Linked DNA regions of Homo sapiens: regions 2 and 3 are each linked to region 1. Evidence: promoter capture Hi-C in 16 types of primary human blood cells and fetal thymus (Javierre and others, 2016). All regions are on one chromosome and are shown on one strand. The core of a region is centred on a gene start or on the middle of the fragment in contact, and the rest is flanking DNA. Distances in the headings are between cores, read along the strand shown.

Evidence for each region. Contacts are between HindIII fragments. The CHiCAGO score rates a contact against its expected background, and 5 or more counts as called.
Region 2: the fragment with the promoter of FLCN here is called in contact with a fragment that was not itself captured in region 1 in 1 of 17 cell types (fetal thymus); the score reaches 5.3 in fetal thymus.
Region 3: a contact is called between the fragment with the promoter of COPS3 here and a fragment that was not itself captured in region 1, in 1 of 17 cell types (erythroblasts). The highest score is 5.4, in erythroblasts.

What each region holds. Positions count from the first base shown.
Region 1 is chr17:17,589,003-17,591,572 of GRCh38, forward strand. It overlaps PEMT (phosphatidylethanolamine N-methyltransferase), which reads right to left. Exons shown (of 7, transcript NM_148172.3): 1 at 2,529-2,570. Among named protein-coding and RNA genes, the nearest start is that of PEMT, 1.4 kb to the right of the region's middle. RefSeq lists enhancers at 2,151-2,570, 2,458-2,570. The HindIII fragment of the contact is 969 bases long and covers 805-1,773 here.
Region 2 is chr17:17,235,896-17,238,465 of GRCh38, forward strand. FLCN (folliculin) reads right to left here and starts at 1,273. Exons shown (of 14, transcript NM_144997.7): 1 at 1,017-1,273. RefSeq lists an enhancer at 1,490-1,599 and a silencer at 2,034-2,219. The HindIII fragment of the contact is 3,806 bases long and covers 1-2,570 here.
Region 3 is chr17:17,279,950-17,282,519 of GRCh38, forward strand. It overlaps COPS3 (COP9 signalosome subunit 3), which reads right to left and starts at 1,297. Exons shown (of 12, transcript NM_003653.4): 1 at 1,183-1,297. The coding sequence starts at 1,237. RefSeq lists enhancers at 685-744, 1,395-1,494 and a silencer at 935-1,174. The HindIII fragment of the contact is 7,073 bases long and covers 1-2,570 here.

The sequences.
Region 1 (2,570 bases), core at 39-2,538:
CAGGCTGGAGTGCAATGGCGTGATATCAGCTCACTGCAACCTCCACCTACGGGGTTCAAGTGATTCTCCTGCCTCAGCCTCCCGAGTAGCTGGGATTACAGGCATGTGCCGCCACGCCTGGCTAACTTTTTATATTTTTAGTAGAGATGGGATTTCTCCATGTTGGTCAGGCTGGTCTCAAACTCCCGACCTCAGGTGATCCACCTGCTTTGGCCTCCCAGAGTGCTGGGATTACAGGCGTGAGCCACCGTGCCCAGCCCCAACAGCTGATTTTTTTTTTTTTTTTTTTAAAAACAAAAGCAAGATTCTGTACCTGCTGAAGCAGGCCCAGAAAAGAGCTGGTGGAGGGCATGGTACCCAGAGCAGCACTGTTTGGTATGACATGGCAGCCACTGGTCACAGGCAGTGCCACAAGCTTGGAATGCCACAGGACAAAATATGTCTGATATATATTTTGGTAACAATAAAATATATTGTCAAAATTATTTTTCTATTTCTTTGCTATTTTCCATTTCTTCTCACTAATTTAACATGGCTACTAGAAAGGTTTAAATTATGCATGTGGCACACGATGTTTCTACTGGACAGCACAGCAGCACAGGGCTAGCACCGGAGATCCTGCAGCTCAGACGCCCATGGGGTGAACAAAAACCTTGCAACTCTCCCAGGCCAGGGACTGACATATTTTAAAACCGGAGATTTTGATTGAGGAGGGAGTAGAGCTACCACATAAGCAAATATGTAATGTTGTATGTTGTATGTTTCTTTCTTTCTTTCTTTAAGAAAAATCCCTTGGCAACAGGAAGCTTAACTGCACCAACAAGGACAGCAGAAGAAAAGCAGAATGTTAGTCAACAAGGGTCACCCTGACCCGAACCCCAGCCCCAGCTCTCTCCAGCTGCACAGCCCTGGGGAGAAAGGAGAAAGAGCAGAGAAGCCCACCCCTCACACACCCGGTTAGTCTCCCCTGCCCACTGGCAGGCCCTGGGGCAGGCCCCTAGATGGGTCTGCAAAGGGACACTGCCCCCTTGCATTCTGCCCCCCCTTCTACATGGCTCCCCCACCCACCCTTCTACACGGTGGCTTCTGAGGGCAGCCCCTGGAGGTGATCATGACCCCCCATCTTGATCTGAGGATTAACAGATACAGGTTCACCTGGTGAAAATGCAGGAGCTGTAGGGGTAGGACCCATCACTCATCTGACTGCATGTTGTAATTCAATGGACAGTTTACTAAAGTAATAGTCTTCTTCCTGTCCTCTGCTGAGCACCCATCTGGCCAACGGTCCTGCGCTCCCTCAGGGCCAGCGGCCCATCTCCTCCTGTGCCTCCTGGAGGGCTTCGCAACTGCCTCCCTCCTCTGGGGAATCTTGCCCCACTGACTGACCTTTCGGCTCTCAGATCCCAGGTCCCTCCCTCGCAGATACGGCAACAGGCTCTCTTGGGATTTCAATCCCGCCTTCCCATCAGCTACTCTTCAAAACACTAACTGGTATTAGCTCCTTCAGAGAACTCTCTGGCTTTCCAGGCCTACAATCTCCCTCCCTAGAATGAAAGCTCAGTGACAGAAGTGCCCTTAAACTTCTGAGTGACACGAGGCCCTCAGCCGGCCCTGAATCAATACTGGCTGGATCAGTGAGTGAATAAATGCACATGTGAGTAAGGAATGAAGGGAGCGAAAGAACTGGATTAGAAGCTGCTTGGGGCAGAGATGTGCCTTACAGGCTTCATGAAGAGTGGGTGATGAAAAAGGTAAATGGAGCATCTAAGAGGAAGCTTTGATAGAAGGGAGAATGCAAGAGAGGTTGGAAATTGGAATCCATTGGAATTGGGAGCCTGGGGAGATGCCAGGACAGGCACTCTCTGGCCTAGGACTCTGCAGAGGGCAGCCTCAGCAGGCAAGCCAGGCCCCCAGCTTCTGGGGCCGGTCGCACCCATTATGGCCCCGAAACGGCTGGGTGGTGGTCTGCAGCCTGCCCAGGGCCGGCTGGGAGACAGGCAGGGTCCCCACCACTCTCTTGCCTCTGGGCAAAAGCTGGCCTCCTGACCCTGGGGGATGGACGGGAGCAGGGGCCACACAACACACTCCCAAACATATAATCGGCCTCCTTCACCCTCGCCCACGCTCAGTCACACACAGCCTCGGTCATACACACTCACACTCACTCTCCGGCACACTCTCAGAGCATCACATAATTTCAGTGAGACACAATCCCAAAGACTAACACGGACAACCTCTGAGTCTCACACAATCTCAGGGCCACACACAGGCACACAATCAGACGAGCTCAGGAACGCCCCCGTCTCTGACACACGCAATCTGAGGTTTACACGCGCGCGCACACGCACACACACAGACACCAGCCGGCGCTCCCGCACGCGGCTCCCCCACCCCCGCCACGCCACGCCCCCATTGCCTGGGAACTGGCGGCCCCGCCCCGCAGCGTTTGAGGCGCCGCAAGCCTTCACGCCCCTCGGGCCTTGCAGATCCCTCTCCCAGTTTCCGCGGCGGTCCGGTGCGGTCAGTACCTGTCTAAAATCAATATTGCCGAGGCCTCCGCAGCAGTCAGG
Region 2 (2,570 bases), core at 23-2,522, 350 kb before region 1:
GTATTCAAATTCCCTGATGTGGTAGAGTGTCTGTTCATGTCCCCCTCCCACAATGGCTGAGTCCCAGACCTGGACAGTGACCTCACCACCACCCGTGGTGCGCCCTGGCCCTATTTCAACCCTACTTCCTATGGTGTTCTCATAGCACCGTGGAGAATTAAAGAGGCCACTAAGTAAGGGCACTCTAAATAAACAAAGCACTATAACGGATCTTAACCAGCAGTGGACACACAGCTTCTATAACTAGTCTCCCACTGGGGAGCCTCATTAAGTTAGCAGCTGGGATCCCAACAAGCCCAGGGTGAAAAGTTCTGCAGGGGATGACTGCCAGTTCAGATCCACTCTCACTGTGGCTCTATTTCCACCGTTTCCCTGGATTTCCATTCACAGAGCTCCCTGACATAGGACACTAGAAGGGCAAACGCAGTGTCACCTGCCACTATTACTCAATTACTTGATGACCACGGTGATAATCTGGCACTAAACTGGCTGTGGCCAAAGGCTAGAGAGCCAGAACCTACTTCCAGCAAGCTCCTCCTTGCCCTGTGTCCCCACTTGAAGAGACTGCTAGTGACCACACCTTGGACTTCAATCCACAAGCCAATCCATTCTTTCCAGGAGACAAGGACGCGACTGACAGTACTCTCAACTGGAGAGAAGCGCGGTCTTCCACCCTCCCTGGAGGACACGGTGCTACCCTATTAGCGCATCAGAGGACCCTCCTGAACGCCAAACTGGGAGAAGAGGATGACACACACCCTCTCCTCCAAACAGAGCGAAGACAAAACCTGGGAGAAGGGAAGGCAAACAGTCCCGTTTCATGGCAACATCAAATGAGATCACAGTCCTCATCCCCATAGACTTGGTTAATGGGCGTGCCCCCAACCTATCTTCAAATCTCAGGGTCTCGGCGACGCCCTGGACTCTGGCCCTAAACCCTCCCCCATTACTCGTCCACCTGGGACCAACGAAAACTCGGACATGCCCCTCCGCCAACCCCTCAGACCCCCGCCTACCTGCTCCCCAAATCGAGGCCCGCGGGACACCTGGACTCGGCAGCCGGGGTCCCGCTCTGGGTCCCAGCCCCGCCCCTGACTGCGCTGGGTAGGTGGTCGCTGCGGGACCCGGACCGGCGGAATCACACCCAGAGCCCCCAAGCCCACGGCAGGGATGTCACCCGGGGTGGCGAGGCTCTCAAGCCCGGGTTCAGGCTCTCAGGGGAGCTGGCAGAACCAGGAGCGACCACACTCACTCGCGGTCCCGCAGCCCCGCCGACACCCAGGCGCGTGACTCCCTGAGCCGTACCACCACCCAACACTGCGGTGGGGGTGCGGGAGCCGTCCGAGCGCGTCCTGCACCGCGAGGAGAGCCGGGCCTCCCTAGCTCTCGCAAGCCCAGGAACACAGTCCGAGTCCTACAACTCCGAGGTCTGACTGGGAAGCAGGGGCCGCTGCCCGACAATTACCCTTTTCCACCGCCCCTATTCCGGTGCCCCCCTCTGGGAAGTTCCGAATGGTTCAGACCGCACCAGCTGGGGATGCTGGGGGAAACCATTTCATTAAGCGCGGGAGTATGCTGAAACTTAAAAATCATTTTAAAAAGAGATTTGAGGGTAAATATAGCCAACCTAAGGCTTCCTGTCCACATAAAAGAGAAAAATAAAGAAAAAACGTTATAAGAGGTTGGCAGGCTTTTTTTTTTTGCTTCACCAATGGTTTTTATTAAATTGCTGATGGAACCCGTCCTCTCCCTACATTGAGAGTATGGAAGGTGCGGGAGACGGCCGTCACGTGACGCGGAGAAGGCGCGGCGCCCGTGGGAGGTTGGTTGCAGAACTCGGAACCGCTGTGCGCGCGCATGTGTGGGATTCGGTCTTCCTCCCTCAGTGGGTCTTTTTTAAAAATGTGAAAATCAGTTTTTGAATAATATTCTTTTTTTGAGACAGAGTTTCGCTTTCGCTCTTGTTGCCCAGGCTGGAGTCCAGTGGCGCGACCTCGCCTTACTGCAACCTCCGCTTCCCGGGTTCAAGCGATTCTCCTGCCTCAGCCTCCCGAGTAGCTGGGGACTACAGGCGTCCGCCACCACGCCTGGCTAATTTTTTGTATTTTTGCAGAGACGGGTTTTCACCCTTTTGGCCAGGCTGGTCTTGAACTCCTAACCTCAGGTGATCCACCAGCCTCGGCCTCCCAAAGTGCTGGGATTACAGGCGTGAGCCACCGCGCCCGGCCTGAATAATATTTTTTAAAACTAGAGCGCCCATTACTAAATTTAGCTACTTAGAAGTTAATTGTAAAGCCATTAGTTTGTGATGTAGTGTGGGTCCTTCCAGTGAAGACCGGAGAGAGATGGGAATCAGAGCCTGACCCGCCTGTGCGCGCTGCCCCCTGAGGTGTGGCTGCCCCCTGAGGTGTGGCCGCCCCGGAGCCTTCCGCCGCGGCCGAGGCTATGGTTGCCGCAGAGTCTCCAGAATGTGCTCACCAGGAATAGAATAGAAAAGTGGGTGGTTGTGTTTTTGAAATCAGAAGTCACTTATTTTTTTCTCTTTAAATTTCCATGTTCTGGTCGGGCGC
Region 3 (2,570 bases), core at 47-2,546, 310 kb before region 1:
TCATCACAATTCTACCCCTAGAAATGGAGTCCTGGCCGGGCGCAGTGGCTCACGCCTGTAATCCTAGCACTTTGGGAGGCCGAGGTGGGCGGATCACTTCAGGTGAGGAGTTCGAAACCAGCTTGGCCAACATGGTAAAAACCCCATCTCTATTAAAAATACGAAAAAATTAGCCGCGTGGGCTGGCCGCGGTGGCTCATGCCTGTAATCCCAGCACTTTGGGAGGCCGAGGCCAGTGGATCACCTGAGATCAAGGTTCGAGACCAGCCAGGCCAACATGGTGAAACCCTGTCTCTACTAAAAATACAAAAATTAGCCGGGCAGGCGCCTGTAATCCCAGCTACTCGGGAGGCTGAGACAGGAGAATCGCTTGAACCTCGAAGGCGAAGGTTGAGGTGAGCCGAGACCGCGCCACTGCACTCCAGCCTGGGAGACAGTGAGACTCCGTCTCAAAAAAAAAAAAAGCCGTGTGAGCTGGCGGGCGCCTGTAATCTCAGCTACTCGGGAGGCTGAGACAGGAGAATCGCTTGAAGCCGGGAGGCTGAGGTTGCAGTGAGCCGAGATCGCGCCACTGCACTCCAGCCTCGGCTAAAAAAAAACAAAGAAGAAGAAATGGAGTCCTACGAGCGAGAGCTTCCGCAGCATTCTGTAGGACCAAAATAGGCGCACAGGTTCCCGAGCGTGCGCCGCCTGGCAGCGGAGGAGCTGGCAGAGGCGAGCCATAGAGCCAAGACACCCAGAACGGACTCGCCTCCCGCCCGCTCCCGGCGGCCTAGTCAGCAAGCTGCGGATCGGCGGCAAAGATGACATGGCGGTGCGCCAATCACCGAAGGCAAGAGAGACAGAAGGAACCAATAGTCGCCCGAGATGGCTCCTGGCGGAAGTCACGCCCCCAAACTGTCAAGCAAAGCGCCCGGTGGAAGGGGCCCAGGCCGGGGGGAGGGGGCTCCCGGCGGCCCGAGGGAGGGGAGGCCGGCCGGCGAGGACAGCGGAGCGCGAGGGGGCTGCCTACACTCGGCCGCGCTCGATCCTGCCCTGATCTAAACGCCGCAACCCCAAGCCCGGCCCCGGAGAAGAGTCTCAGGACTAAAAGGGCTGTTCCAGCCGTCCGTGCTGGCGCCTGGGGATCCAGGCCAGTTCCCGGTACCCGCCCATGCCCAGCCCGGCGGCCTAGGGCGTTACCTTGAGCTGAGAGCTGTCGGACACTGTTCACGAACTGCTCCAGGGCAGACGCCATGTTTTCCCCCGGGCGGCCCGAGCGGCGAAGGCAGCACGCGCGGGAAAAGGCTGCCGCTCTGGGAGGAGGGGCCGCGGCGATCCACCTGAGGTCCTCGCGAGCGGCGACGTCACTTCCGCTGGTTCAAGCACCGCGAGACTATACCTAGCTGCCCACCCGTTACTGTTTCCATGGAAACAGCCTGAATTCGCCGTAGCCGGAAATTAGTGTTCCATAGTCCCCTGCATCTTTATTCACTGCACTTCTGAAATCCCTCCGCAGGTTAAATGGGGATAGTGGGCAAAAGAAGGAAGGAAACTCATAATTAAGCAAGTATTTTCTGGTTCTGGATTTTGCTAGAGAGGCCCTGCGGTTTTCCACCTGGACAGATACTTCAATGAAGCACAACTTCGTTGCCACGTCTCCCGTGAGGTTTTCCCCGTGATATTAGACTCTGGAGCCAAGCAGCCTGGGTTCAACTGCCTTTTCTACCACTTAGTAGCTGTGTGACGTTGAGCGGGTCACTTGACTGTCGTGTGCATTGTTTTCCCCATCTGTAAAATCTTAGTGTCCTTAACCACGTAAAACACTTAGGACAGTGCATAGGACGTAGGGAGAACTATAGTTATTCATTCAAGGTGTACGTTGAATGAATCGATCCCTTCCCTGCAAAAAATAAATAAATAAGTAACACCACACACAGAAAGTGAATTGATTTTTCCCATCTGGGATTGATGTCTCCCTCCTCCGCTTGTCGCCTAAAGCACTTTGTTCTTCTCATGTTGCACTTCTACTCTGTTACAGAAATGTGTCTCTATAGTCCATGTGATATCTGTAAACCAAAAATAAAAGTCTAAGCCCCCCAACTGACTGGTGGACCCTATCTGAAGCCAAGGACATTCCAATTTATCCTGAAAAACTAGTTCAGGCCATGATGGGAAGTGGTAGTCAGACATGCCTCACAAACATCAACACAGAGACCTTAAGACTGGTAGACTCAAGACTGATAAGAAATATTTACAATCTATTCTGTCTGAATAGCAGGCTACCTGGAAGCCTCATCTGCATGATAAAACCTTGGTCTCCACAACCCCTTATAATCATAACCCAGATATTTCTTTCTATTTACTTCCAGGTCTTTAGATAATAACTCTTTCAACCAATTACCAATCAAAAAATCTTTAAGTCTACCTATAAGGTAGAAGCCCCCCACTGCCCCGAGTTAGCCCGTCTTTCCGATCCTAACCAACGTACATCTTACATGTATTGATCGATGACTCATGTCTCCCTAAAATGTATAAAACCAAACTGTACCCGCACCTTGGGCACATGTCCTGAGGAGCTCCTGAGGCCG